2 separate regions of the Homo sapiens genome follow, and region 2 is linked to region 1. The links are contacts of gene promoters, found by promoter capture Hi-C in human tissues and cell types (Jung and others, 2019). All regions are on one chromosome and are shown on one strand. The core of a region is centred on a gene start or on the middle of the fragment in contact, and the rest is flanking DNA. Distances in the headings are between cores, read along the strand shown. Region 1 holds the start of PAK1 (p21 (RAC1) activated kinase 1). Region 2 overlaps MYO7A (myosin VIIA).

The links. The method cuts DNA at HindIII sites, captures the fragments that hold promoters and counts their contacts. A contact is called where the count stands out against the background at its distance.
Region 2: a contact is called between a fragment that was not itself captured here and the fragment with the promoter of PAK1 in region 1, in 1 of the 25 tissues and cell types used here (thymus).

The regions. Positions count from the first base shown.
Region 1 is chr11:77,471,551-77,478,190 of GRCh38, forward strand. It overlaps PAK1 (p21 (RAC1) activated kinase 1), which reads right to left and starts at 2,544. Exons shown (of 15, transcript NM_002576.5): 1 at 2,002-2,544. RefSeq lists an enhancer at 1,652-2,568 and silencers at 1,809-2,118, 2,139-2,188, 2,419-2,778. The HindIII fragment of the contact is 5,525 bases long and covers 502-6,026 here.
Region 2 is chr11:77,163,573-77,170,212 of GRCh38, forward strand. It overlaps MYO7A (myosin VIIA), which reads left to right. Exons shown (of 49, transcript NM_000260.4): 15 at 2,484-2,590. Among named protein-coding and RNA genes, the nearest start is that of MYO7A, 39 kb to the left of the region's middle. The HindIII fragment of the contact is 9,813 bases long and covers 1-6,640 here.

The DNA of each region.
Region 1 (6,640 bases), core at 1,294-3,793:
GGGGTGGAAGGGAAGCATTCCAGGAAGAAAACAGAACATGCAAGAGTGAAGATGAGAGTGGCAGGGGAGCCACAGAAAGTGAGACTGCAAAGGCAGGCAGTGGTCTGATCCCTGAGAGCTTTTTATTCCATGTTACTCTGAAATTTATCTTCAGAATATGAAGAGTCAGGGGTAGGGGGCGCTGATGTGGTAAGGTTTTGTTTTACAGAAATCTTTCTGGATGCACAGTACCTTCCTTTGAGGCACTGCTTCCTTCAAACCTAGCACAGGGACTCAAAACATGTGCTTAGTAAATGTATATTGAATTGAACTGAACAAGCTTTTTACCAAATGCCCTGTTATGGATGAGGCAGGTCACCTTCCCTGCAGGACTCACTTTGGCCAAGAGAAGACTTGTAAAACAGGTCCAGCAGCCTCAATTATTGCACACTACTACCTGTACAACTGGAGTCCCCCAGAGATTAGGGCAGACCTTCATTGTTTACTTGTCTACCTCACCCATTAGACTTTGAGCTCTTTGAAGACAGGGAATATCTTAATAGACTGAATCCCCATAGCCTTAGCAAGAGGCCTGAAACATAGTAGCTCTCCGAACTCCAGTAATGTTGGATAAACGAATTGACTGAATAAGCAAATTTACCAAGGTAGACCCATGAGCTCATGTAGTTAAAGAGTATGGATAAGCTTCAGGGAAAGTATGGGAAGTTTTCAGGGTCAATGTTCCCAAAACCCTTTTTGAAAGGCATAGTTTCTAGTTGAGGTGGGGAGTTTTTATATGCACCTGACTTAGAATTTTCCAAATAGGAACCAAAATGTTGTAAGTGCTGTGGTAGAAATCCCACCGGGCCAATGGGAAGAAATCAGCTCTGTCTGTAAGAGGAGAGACAGGATGGAGGCCAGCAAAGACTTCACAGTGTGGGAATTCTTCAGTGGACTCTTGAAAGCTGAGTCCGGTGCTTGCTACTTGCCCGTTTTGGGGCATAAAACCAAACTTCTGGAGCTTTTAAGGCTGGAAGTGACCTGCTCAAGGTCACACAAGAAGTAGATGAAGCCACAGGGTAAGAGAGATGAGGTATCTGTACTGATAATTCCTACTTTCTCCTGACAGAGTTGAAAGAGAACCCAAAAATGTAGGAGGCAAAATTAAAGATTGTTCTCAGGAACAATTCTTAAAGTCAAGACTAATGAATCTGAATTTTTATTAGTAACCACGGAACTAACCCTTCCCTTCACTGTTCACAGTTTTTGTAACAGTAGAACAATTATCCAAGGGGTTTAAAAACCAAGGACGTTGCTCACAACGCCACACCCACTACTTCTCAAGTATTCTTCCAAAACACTCCCAGTAATGTGTACTGCTGAAATAGGATAGCGAAGGCTACAACAATCATGTCTTTTCAAACGTAATAATGAACATAAAATAACTATAAATCTCCTTCCCCGGTTGTTTTTCACTTCCCAAGTTACAGAATATTCCGGGGTGGGGGAGGGGCTGCGTAAGTCAAGTCCTACCAGCCCTTATTTTTCAGGGAGTAGAACCCTAAAGGTGACTGTCCAAGCCTGGAAGGGGTCATTTATTCCATGCAGAAGGAACTGGGCGCCGCTTTGCTGTGCCTCCTCGTAGCGGGACAGGGTGAGCGCCGCAGGACTGCGAAGTTCGGGACGGACTCGGTCCCGGACCGGTACTCGTGTGGCCTCCCGGCTCCAGCCTGGCCTGGCCCCGCCCCGCCCCTTCCCTCTCCCAGGTCTCTCGAATCGCCCGGCGTCTGAGACCCGCGACCCCGCCGGTACGCGCACAGGGGGCCTTTGTTGGCCCGACGGGAGCGGGCCTCGCGGGGCGCCGCCCGCCTCACCTTACCTGGCGCCTCCTCCCGCCCAGGCGCCCGGCCCCGCAACGCGAAATAAATGGGCCCAGACCCCCACTCCACCCGTCCCCACCCCCGCGCCCCAGCCCTGGCAGCCCGGGACGCGAGGGGTACTGGGCGGTAGGCCCGCTCTCACCTTCCGCGCTCGCTCAGCTCCTCTCGGCTCCTCCTCCTCCTCCCGGCGGTGGGTGCCGCCTAGCCGGGAGTGAGGGCGCGAGTGTGCGCGAGCTACCGCTTCACTTTCTCCCTCCTGCCGCCGCCGCCGCGCTGCCCGTGGCGGGGCTCCCCTCAGGACAGGGGAACTGCGAGGGAAGGGATGATGGGGGGGCGGGAGGGAGCGAGGCGACGCGGGCGGGGGGGGAAGGGGGGACTGAGGGGCGAGGTGCGAAGGGCTCAGATGGCCTCTGAGGCAGGAGGTGGTAACTGGATGCGGAGACCAGGTTCCTCGAGGGGGCTCACGAAAGCGCGGGGCTCCGTGGAAAAGGGAATGAGAGTCCAAGGGGGAAGGCGTCTGTGGGGGAGGACTGCAGAGCCTGTGAGGGAAGCGCGATGGGCGAGCGAGGGGGCGGGAGCGTGTGGGGGAAGCCGTGAGGGGGCGTCTACTGTGCAGCCACCACCTTCGGCTCCGGCTGCAGCCGCGGGAGGGCAGCCTCCCCCGCCCACAGCCGCGCTATTGTACGCCGCCCGGCAGGCCTGACCGCCTAGTTCACTGGCTCCCCTACTCCTCCTCCTCCCGCCTCCTCCTCCCCTCTGCCCTTTCCCCTTCTCCCCCTCCCCCTCCCCCACTCCCCCTCCCCGGCGCGGCGGCGGCGGCTGCGGCTCCGGTGGAGCCGTGCCCGCCCCGCCTCCCGCAGGTGAGAGGGGGCGGGGAGGGCCTGACCGACCCGTGGGAGCGAGGCCAAACCCTGGCCCGCATGAGGGCGAACGCCTGGGATTACGTCATCGGCGCGTGACGCCAGAGGCTGGGGAATCACCCGCTTGCTGCGTGACGTCATCGCGTCGCGTCACTGTTCTCGGTCCGCTGTCCGTGGCGGGTTGTTTCCGTGCAGCCTTTCTATCAGACAATTTTGGGACGATTTCTGGGAGGGCTACTGTAGTAGTCAGGATGGAGAAAGACGGCTAACTTCCGGCGCTGAGGGTCCTTTTCAGGTTAACAAAGCACCACCGCATCTATGAGCTCGTTGTCAAGGGCTGAATTTGAAAACTATCCGATGTCGTGTGATCTCACAGCCAGACATGTATTATGTTTTCTTTCTGTGGGAGAGGGGGCAGGGGTGGGAGGAAGACAAAGAAATTATAACGGAGATGTTTGAACTAATGTGAACTGACATACGAAAAGAATGGGCTTCCTTTCACGTTTTTTCCCCTACCGTGGAGGGTACTTTCGACCCAAAGCTTTCTTTCTCCTGAGCTCAGATTGTGTATTTCCCAATACCTCCCGAGCAGCATTACCTGCATACTCTTCGTACCTCAGATTCAACATGTGCGAAACTGAGACAGCATTAGAAAGGCTAAGAGTCCGGAATCAGGTTGCCTTGCTTGAAATCCTAGCTATTCAAATATTAGTGATAGGACCTTGACATTTCTAAGCCGTAATTTTTCTGTAATAATAAGTAGTACCTTAACTAGGTCTTCCTAAGCCTCAGTTTTACCATGGTAATAGTAACAAGCCCTTTAGAATGTTGGCTATTATTATTATTTCCCCCCCAAAATTGCTTCTTACGTTCCTTTCCGTTCTCAATGAATGGGCCACCCATTCAACAATCCCCTAAGCCAGGAACCTAGACATACTAATAGCTCCCCGTTCTTCCTCTCTCAACATCCATATCAAGTTGGACACCAAGTCTTGTAGCTTCTCCTAAATATTTTTCAAGTCCTTGCCTGTGTCGTCTTCTACTACCACCACCTGAACAACTGGAGCAACCTTTAGTCTCTTCAAACTCAATCTATTTTTCTCACTAGTTACCTGAGTAGCCTTATAAAAGCACAAATCTGATGATGTCCTCCCGTTTAAACACCGAAAGGATTTTATTGCTTTCAGGATAAAGTTCAAACTCCTGAACTTGGCACTTTATTACCTGACTGCTTACACTAGCCTTTCTAGCTTTGTCTCACATCATTTATTTTTTGCTCCAAGCACACTGAAATATTAACGTTATTTGAATACACATTTCTTCATGTCTTCAAGCTCTTCCCTACTTAGCTGACTGGCCAACACCTATTCATTGTACAAAGCTGAGCTCAAATGTCATTCATATTCATATTCATATTCATTTGACTAATATTTCTAAAGTTTCCCTAAGCCTTAACAAAACTGTAATTCTATAGTATTTCTATGCCTTTTATGGAAGTAACTGCATTTGTGTATCTAATTTCTTGAGTTCCAAGTCATATTCCTTTCCATATCCTCAGCACCTAAAACAGTGCTTGACATATACCTAAGTATCAATATGTTGTTAAAATATATTTAATAAGGCCAGGCGCGGTGGCTCACGCCTGTAATCCCAGCACTTGGGAGGCCAAGGCAGCCAGATCACCTGAGGTCAGAAGTTTGAGACCAGCCTGGCCAATATGGCGAAACCCCATCTCTACTAAAATACAAAAATTAGCCGGGCGTAGTGGCAGGCACCTGTAATCCCAGCTACTCAGGAGGCTGAGGCAGGAGAATTGCTTAAACCCAGGAGGCGGTGGTTGTAGGAAGCTGTGATTGCACCACCACACTCCAGCCTGGGTGACAAGAGCAAAACTCTGTCTCAAAAAAAATGTATTTAATAAATGTTCCTATTGTTCTTTCTATGTGCCAGGTACTGTTCTGAGCACTTTACAAACACTGTCTTTAAACCTCTACCCTCTACGGTAGATACTGTTGTTATCCTCACCCATCTTATTGATGCGGGAACTGAGGCACAGAGGGGTTAAGTAACTTAACCCAGGATCCTAACCCAGTAAATTGACTCTAATCTGGATTGTCTTTTCGTGATCTCTGCACTAGGCAGAATAATGGCTCATCCAATGGAATGTTCACATTCCAATCCCTGGGAACTATGAATATGTTACCTTCCATGACAAAAGGACTCTGCAGATGTGAGTAAATTGAGGATTTGGGGAAAGGGACTCTCCAGCTTTTGGGAGCAGACTGGAAAATGGAAAAGGCAAGAAAATGGATCCTCCCTTGGAGCCTCTGGAAAGGAAGAGATGGTATCCTGATGATACCTTAATTTTAGCCCACTGACATCCATTTAGGACTTCTGAACTACAGAACTGTGAAATAATAAATGTGTATTGTTGGCCAGGCACAGTGGCTCACATCTGTAATCCCAGCACTTTGGGAGGCCGAGGCGGGTGTATCACCTGAGGTCAGGAGTTCAAGAGCAGCCTGGCCAACATGGTGAAACCCCATCTCTACTAAAAATACAAAATTAGCTGGGCGTGGTGGCACATGCTTGTAATCCCAGCTACTCGGGAGCTGAGGCAGGAGAATCGGTTGAATCCAGGAGGTAAAGATGCTGTGAGCCGAGATTGCGCCATTGCACTTAAGCCTAGAGACAAGAGTGAAACTCCATCTCAAAAAATAAAATAAAAAAATAAAAATAAATGTGTATTGTTTTAAGCCCACTTTGTGTTTGATAATTTGTTACAGCATCCATAAGAAACTAATACAATCTCTAATCAAAGGTGACTGCTCTATGCTAGGAATTGCTAGCAGGATGAGAAGTGAAACTGTCCACCAAAGCTGCAGCTGAAATCAGAGATGGGCTAGAAGTGGAATAAATAAGTAGGATAAGTGTATACAGTAAGTCCTCACTTAACGCCATCAATGGGTTCTGCAACTTTAGGCAAAACAATGTATAACAAAACCAATTTTACCATAGGCTGGCTAATTGATATAAATAAGAGTTGAGTTCCTGTGGCATATTTCTGGTCACAAGACATCATCAAACTTCTAAATAAAGACCAAAACACCTCTAATATCAAACATTGAAATCAATGTGGCCTATACATACATTTAAGAAAGATTAATAAAAAGAGGCCAGACCAGGTGCCTTGGCTCATGCCTGTAATCCCAGCACTTTGGGAGGCCAAGGTGGGCAGATCGCTTGAGCCCAGTAGTTTGAGACCAGGCAAGATAACATGACAAAACACCATCTCTACAAAAAAAAAAAAACCCAAATACAAAAAATTAGCCAGGCATGTCAGCACACCCCTATAGTCCCATAGTCCCAGCTACCCAGGAGGCTAAGGTGGGAGGATCACTTAAGCCCCGGAGGTCAAGGCCACAGTGAGCCATGACCGCACACCTTTGCACTTCAGTCTGGGCGACAGAGTGAGACCTTGTTTCAAAAACAAAACAAAAAACAAGAGGCTGGGCACAGTGATTCATGCCTGTAATCCCAGCATTTTGGGAGACCAAGGCAGAAGATCACTTAAGCCTAGGAGGTCGAGGCTGCAGTGAGCCGTGATCATGCCACTGCACTCCAGCCCAGGAAACAGCGTGAAACCGTGTCTCAAAAATAAACAAGTAAGATCATTATTTACCCAATTTTTCCAGTTCAGGGTTGAGAGTGGCCAGAGCCTATCCCAGCAGCTAAAGGTGCAAGGCAGGAACCAACCATGTATAGGATGCTACGTAAGCTATTCCAGGGTGCACTCACATGCACACCAACACTCACTCAGACTAGGACAATTGAAACATGCCAGTTAACTTAATGTGCACATCTTTGGGATGTGGGAGGAAGCTAGAGTACACAGAGAAAACAGAGTCCAAACTACACTGG
Region 2 (6,640 bases), core at 2,152-4,651, 310 kb before region 1:
TAAACATAGAAAAGGTAAAGTAAAAATACGTCATTACCATCTTAGCCACCACTATTGTATCTGCAGTTGGCTGAGATGTCATTCTGTGGTGAAGACGTGACTGTATTTGTCCTTTTGTGTCTGGCTTGTTTCATTCAGCGTAATGTCTTTAATTTTCATCCACGTTGTAGCATGTATCAATTGCCCTCATTTTTATGGCTGAATAGTATTTCGTTGTGTGGATAAACCTTTTGTTTATCCATTTATCTGCTAATGGACTTTTGGGGTTGTTTCTACCTTTTGACTTTTGTGAATAGTGCTGCTCTGAACACTTGTGTACAAATATCTGTTCGAGTCCCTGCTTTCAATTCTTTTGGATGGGCTCAATGCTTGTTTGCACATTTAGGGAAACTGAGGCTCAGAACAAGGTGGGGGGGGCTTGACTGTCCTTACCTGATACAACATAGCCCATTAGGCTCAAAGTCAGGCCTCGAACCAGCCCAGTTACCCCCTAAGACTCTCAGCAACAAGACCAAGCATGAGCTTTGAAGACCGTGCATCTTCTTTTCCCCTGGGGACAGGCAATTGGGTTCACGTTAAAGCTGGAAGTTAAGAAGAGTGGTCAGAACACAGGCTTATCTCACCTGGAATTCTTAAGGGTTTGTCAAAAGACTGCAGACTGCCCTTGCCAATCCCTCCCCACCCACCCTGGTGTAAAGGGCCAACCACAAATTGGCATTAGTTATGGGCTGTGTCTACCCTGAGCCCTGCCATACAGCCTCAAGGGGTCCCATGCATAGTCAAAGGCCAATTAACCCATAAATATCTATACCTACTATGTACCACAAAAAATTAAAAATTAATTTTTTTTTAAAAAAGGCCAAAGATATCCAAACATGCTATAACCCATCCGTTTCTTACTCCGTTGCTGAACTGGTCCAGAAGTCAGCAGTGTATCAGTGAGCCAGGCTGCAGTGGTAGAATCTGATGGCGGCTCAGATTCCCTTACAATATTGGACTGTGAGATCCAACCTTATTGTTGGAAGAAGGAAGCAGACATTAAGTTTGAAGGACTGTCACGCAAACAAATTGGTCTTTCATTTGGAGTAATAGAGGATTGTATTTCTCAGTTCAGTTCAACCAATATGCTCTTAGCATCTATTATGTACCAGGCTTCATGACGTTGCTGAGGATACAGAAGTGAAAATTGAATAATCTCTATGCTGAGTTGTAAAACTATAGAACGCCAGGTCTGGAGGGAACATAAGGGTCATCTACCTTAATAGAATTGGTAACTGAAGCCCAGAAAGGGAAATGGCTTGCCTAAGGTTGTTAAACAAGACTAAATGACTGGAAAGAATTCTACCAGCATTTTCTAGTTCACAAAGAACCTTTTCAATACAGCGTCTTATTTATGATGTGGATTTATGAAGTGGGTGGTATTAGGTGTTCTGAAGAGAAGCAAGCTTGTAGGCACTATCCTTCCCATCCAACAGTTAAGGAAACTGGAGTCCCAGAATGGGGGTCTTTCTAGGATAACATAGTGAGTCTGTCAGAGCTTTAGTGAGAACCCAATTACATCCCAACTGCAAAGCCCACCCTCCATTCCTGTGTGTCCCCTGCAACTCGCCCCTCCCCAGGTGCCAGGCGGGCAGCCTAGCACTGGATCTCTGTGCTGTCCGCCATTCATGGGCAGCCTATGTCCTGCTCTGTGCAGTGGCACTCCCCCTCTGGCATCTGCAGTCCTTGGACACCCCGTCTCTTGCCCCACTCTACAACCCCCTCCCCATTAACCAGTTTCCAACTCCTCGGTCCCTGTGAGTGGCAGCCTCCTCTGGGGTCTGTGTGGTGCAGGGGAATCTCCCTAGGCTCCTGGGGATCCTGGGTTCTGGGTGCAGAGAATCTCCTTTGCACCAGCGTCCTGGGTTCAAGTCTTAACTCTGCCCATGGCTTACTGTGTGACATTAGACAACTCACTTAGCTTCTCTGAACATCAGTTTTCTCCCTTTGGGGGCAGAGGAGGTAATCCCTACCTGTCCCACATAGAAGGAGCTGTGAGGGGTCTTCATAAAACATAACACACTGTCCAACCACAAGGTGGTTTTAATGAATTCCTTTAATATTAGCTTGTACCAGATCAACATGCATTCTCTCCCAGGTGACACACTTACTTAACAAGGCCTTTTGATATCTTAGTTCAAAAGACTCATGGTAGCTTTGGGGTGGTTGGTCAGGAAGGAGGCCTGCTTTCTCCTGGAGACTGAGACCCCCCTGCCCTTCTTGAACAGGCCTGGAAGAGGGGAGCTGTGTCACTGGGGAGATGGCCCCTCACTTTCTCTATGATCTTGGGCAAGTCTCTGTCCCCTCCAGGCCTCAGGGCCCCCGTCATGAAATGGATGTGGTGGAACTAGGTGGATTTTGAGGGTCCTCCTGGCTCAGATGTTATGGGTTTGGGGAGGGCCTGCCAGAGCTGGTGAGAGGTGACTGCTGTTTGCTGCTTGCAGGCTTCCTGGAGAAGAACCGAGACACCCTGCATGGGGACATTATCCAGCTGGTCCACTCCTCCAGGAACAAGTTCATCAAGCAGATCTTCCAGGCCGATGTCGCCATGGTAAGCCGGGTGCGGTTTCTGTTGTTCGGGAAGGGCCCCCACGGGCCAGGCCTGAGTCTAAGCCCTGCCCTTGTCCAACAGCTTCAGCTGAGCCCCCTGGCCACATAATGGGTATGGAGCTTTGCTGTGGCTCCAGGAGGGGCCTGGAGGGGCCTCAAAGGTGTTCCCATCTGGTCCTCTTATTGTACTAACTGGGGATATGGCTGGGGTGCAAGGCCCAGAGAAGGGTCACCTGAGAGGTCACAGAGCAGAACCGGTCAGGGATCGGTTTACTGTGGGGGTTCACCCCCTGGAATCCAGCTGCTAAAGAGAGCATGGGCAGAAAGAGCACATCCAGCTTGAAGGATGTGGGGTGGGTGTGGATACTCAGAGAAGCTGGCACAGAGGGCATGTCTGTGCCAGCCCCAGACCCCATCAGACAGTGGGAGAACAGCCCCCTCCGCCTTTCCTTAGGCCCTAGGGTGAGGGTCTAGTGGATTTTTTCCTGCTGGGTTGCATGCCTTTTTATTTCATATTTTCCTCCTGTCCCATGGCTTCCTGGAGGGTGCATGAAGTCCTCACGCAGAAGACAGTCCTTGCCCCTTCCATGCCTGTCTAGGTGCCTGGCTGTCCCCTGCCCTCAGGACCACCAAGGCATCACAGAGCTTCCAGGACCCCAGACCTCTCCCTGAGGGTCCCCCTCTCTCCATGGTGGATTTTGAGTGGTTTTGTGACCCACCACATTCTCCTTGCCCCTCCTCTCCCCATCTCACCCTGCACCGTGGTTCCTGTTGTAGTTTCTCTGTGGTTATTCATCGGGTACTCTGCGCCACTCAGCAGCTGCTGCGAAGGTAAAAGACCCCAGCCCGGGGCTGAGGATGGCGGGAGAGGCCTCAGCGGCCTGGGTGGGGCTTGGTCCCGAGCTCCCACTGTGCTGAGACTCGGGAAAAGGGCTGGGCTTTTTCTCCTTTTTTTTGGAGTGTGTTTTTGTGTGGAGTGGTTTGTGGAGTGATTTTTGTGTTTGGTTTTTGAGTTGTGTGTGCTGCAGGCATTTCTTTCTTCAAGGAGGAAACTGAGTCCTAGGAGAGGGGCAAGGCTTGCCCAGGGTCCTCTGGGAACCGGGGACAGAGTGGGGACTCGAACGCAGGTCTCCTAAGGCCCCTTGGAGGCGTCAATCCCCGGTCCTTCCACCAGGCCCTGGTGGGCGCCTATGGCCATGCCTTGACCAGATCCTCAGATAACCTTGCAAGGCAGGAGGGACAGGTAGCATTTTCTGCATTTTGCAGATGAGAGACTGAGGCTGAGAGAGGGGATATGACTCATTCCAGGTAACAGCATTCTGACAGGGAGCTGGGACTAGGAGACACCATTCCCCGGACCTCCTTAGGTCTGAAACAGCAGCCCTGTTGCATCCTGAACTCTGGTTCAGGCCGTGGCTCCCACGGTGCTCTAGACCCCAAAGGTGCTGGGTACCCCTTAGCAACAGCATGGTGCTGCCAACCCCTTTGCCTCCTTTTCTCTCCTCAGCCCTCCATTTCCTCTCTGCCAAATACTGACATCCTTCCACTTTGGCCTGGTGCTGAGTCCTTCTTCCTTCCTGCCTGCCTGGCAGAGTTCTGAAACAATCCACACACCCCCAGCAGTAGACAGGGCATGTCAGGAGCAAGGAGCTTGTCTGGATGGTGGCCTCTCCCCTCTGCCCACAGATCAGCCCTGGAAGAACCTCCCGCCCCCACTCACCCTGACAGACCAACACTGTAGGCTGGCCGACTGCTGGGGTGCACACAAGGCCAACCTGAGAGAGGGGAGTCCCAGGCACTCGAAGCACTGGCACCCAGGAGAGTCCCCACCCGAAAGCCCTGTGCTGTAAGGTGGCTGTACTGCTGAGACGGGCGTAGCTCTGGCCTCTCCCACTCTTTCCTCTTCTCCTGTAGCCCTGCTGGCCCCTCGCTGGGCCCATCCATTCCTCCTGGTCTTGGGCATACTCTGGTTAAACCCCATCTTCCCCTCCTACCCGTTCTTCTCTCTCCTCTGTCTTTTCAAAGCTCCTTGAGGCATCTGGGAACACTCCATGATATTTCCTGCTCGAGTTTCCTACTCCTGGGATTAGAACCCACTTACTGAGAAATCATGGAGAGGTCAAAGTGCAGGAGCCCAGAGTCTCCAGAAATGGCCCCCTCCAGAAGAAGTTTTAGGAACAGAGAATTAGGATACAACAGTGACCAATCTGATACCAGTTACATCTACTGGGCACCTCTTCTGAGCCAGGCTATGAGCTAAGCACTTATATTTATCACCTCATTCACTCCCCACTGCAACCTGGCGAGTAATTACTATTACTCCCACTTTACAGGTGAAGAACTGGGGCCCAGGCTGGGTGTGGTGGCTCACACCTATGATCCCAGCACTTTGGGAGGCCAAGGCAGGAGGATTGCTTAAGGCCAGGAGTTCAAGACCAGCCTGGGCAACATAGTGAGACCCTGTGTCTACAAAAAAATTTAAAATTAGCTGAACATGGGGGTGAGCACTTGTAGTCACAGCTACTTGGAGTGGGGGCTGAGAAAAGACAATTCCTTGAGCCCAGGAGTTGGAGGCCGCAGTGAGTTGTGACTGTGCCACTGCACTCCAGCGTGGGTGACAGAGTGAGATCCTGTCTCTAAAATTTAAAAAAAGAAAGAAACTGGGGCCCAGAGAGGCCAAGGTGCTCACTGAGGTCACATACCTTGTGACACAACAGGGATTCGAGTGCAGGCCTGCCTCAGGGACTTGTCTAAGGCCATATACAAGCGAGGGCTAAAGTGAAGTTTTCCAAGTCCCTGCTTTTTAAAAAATAATTTTAATTTTTAAAAATTTACTGTGCTGTCTCCATAAACGTCACATCTTAGGAAAGAAAACATACTTCGTAACTGCTAGAAACACGATGGCTTTTTAAAAGGAAGATGAAAATCAGCTTGGTTAATTGTGAGACATTAAGTCACAGTTTATTCAATGACAGTGTACTAGTGTGGCAATGCTCCCATCAGGATGGAAGCCCACGCCACCTCTTGCAGTGAGTGATCTGCACTCCCATCATCGGCAGATCCCCGAGCCCTGAGTTTTCAGCCTTTGACTCCTACATCTGCCTCCCTGGGGCAGCCGTGGGCAGCCCCACCACAGCCCTTGCTGGTGAAGGGCCCAGCCCAGCTGTGATAAAGGCAGCTCTTCTAGGATATTGAGTAGCCCCTGATTAATGCCTAAGCCCAGTCATATGTCCTGGGGCCCTGAGCCCAAGAGACACCTATTCACTCTATGCAGGTGGCCTCCTGCCTGAGACTTCCCAGCCCCTTTCATGTCACGCTCTGGGGTCTTCCTCTCAGATCCTTTCTGGGGAGCATTTGACATTGGCCTTTGAACTTTTCACTTCCACCTTTACCCCATCCCCATCTGCAGATTATCCCAGAAAACAGCAAATACCAGGAAGGACAGCCTTTCCCCCCAATGAAATAAAACCAAATCAGAAACCCAGATGGCTACCTACAAACCTTTATTGAGTACCTACTATATGCCAGGCATTGTCATGGGTCTTGGGGACGTAGCAGTGAATAAAACAGAAAAAGTCTCTGTCCTTATGGAACTTAAGTTCCAGCAGAAGAGTGGATAGTTAGAAAGCCAAGGCCAGGTGAAGTGGCTCACACCTGTAATTCCAAAACTTTGGGAGGCCGAGGTGGGCAGATTGCTTGAGCTCAGGAGTTCAAGACCAGCCTTGGCAAAATGGCAAAATCCCATCTCTACAAAAAATATAAAAATTAGCTAGGCACAGTGGTACACACCTGTAGTCCCAGCTATTCAGGAGGCTGAGACAGGAGGCCGAGTCTGGGAGGTCGAGGCTGCAATGAGCCAAGATCGTACCACTGTGCTCCAGCCTGGGCGACAGAGTGAGACCTTGCTTCAAAAATAATAGTAAATAGATAGAAAGCCAATAAATAAGTAAAACCTGCAGTGTATCAGATGGTGAGATGTAGTATGGGGAAAGATTAAGGAGGGAGGAATGCGGCGGTGGGACTCTGTGATTTTCAGTGGTGTGGTGGGTGC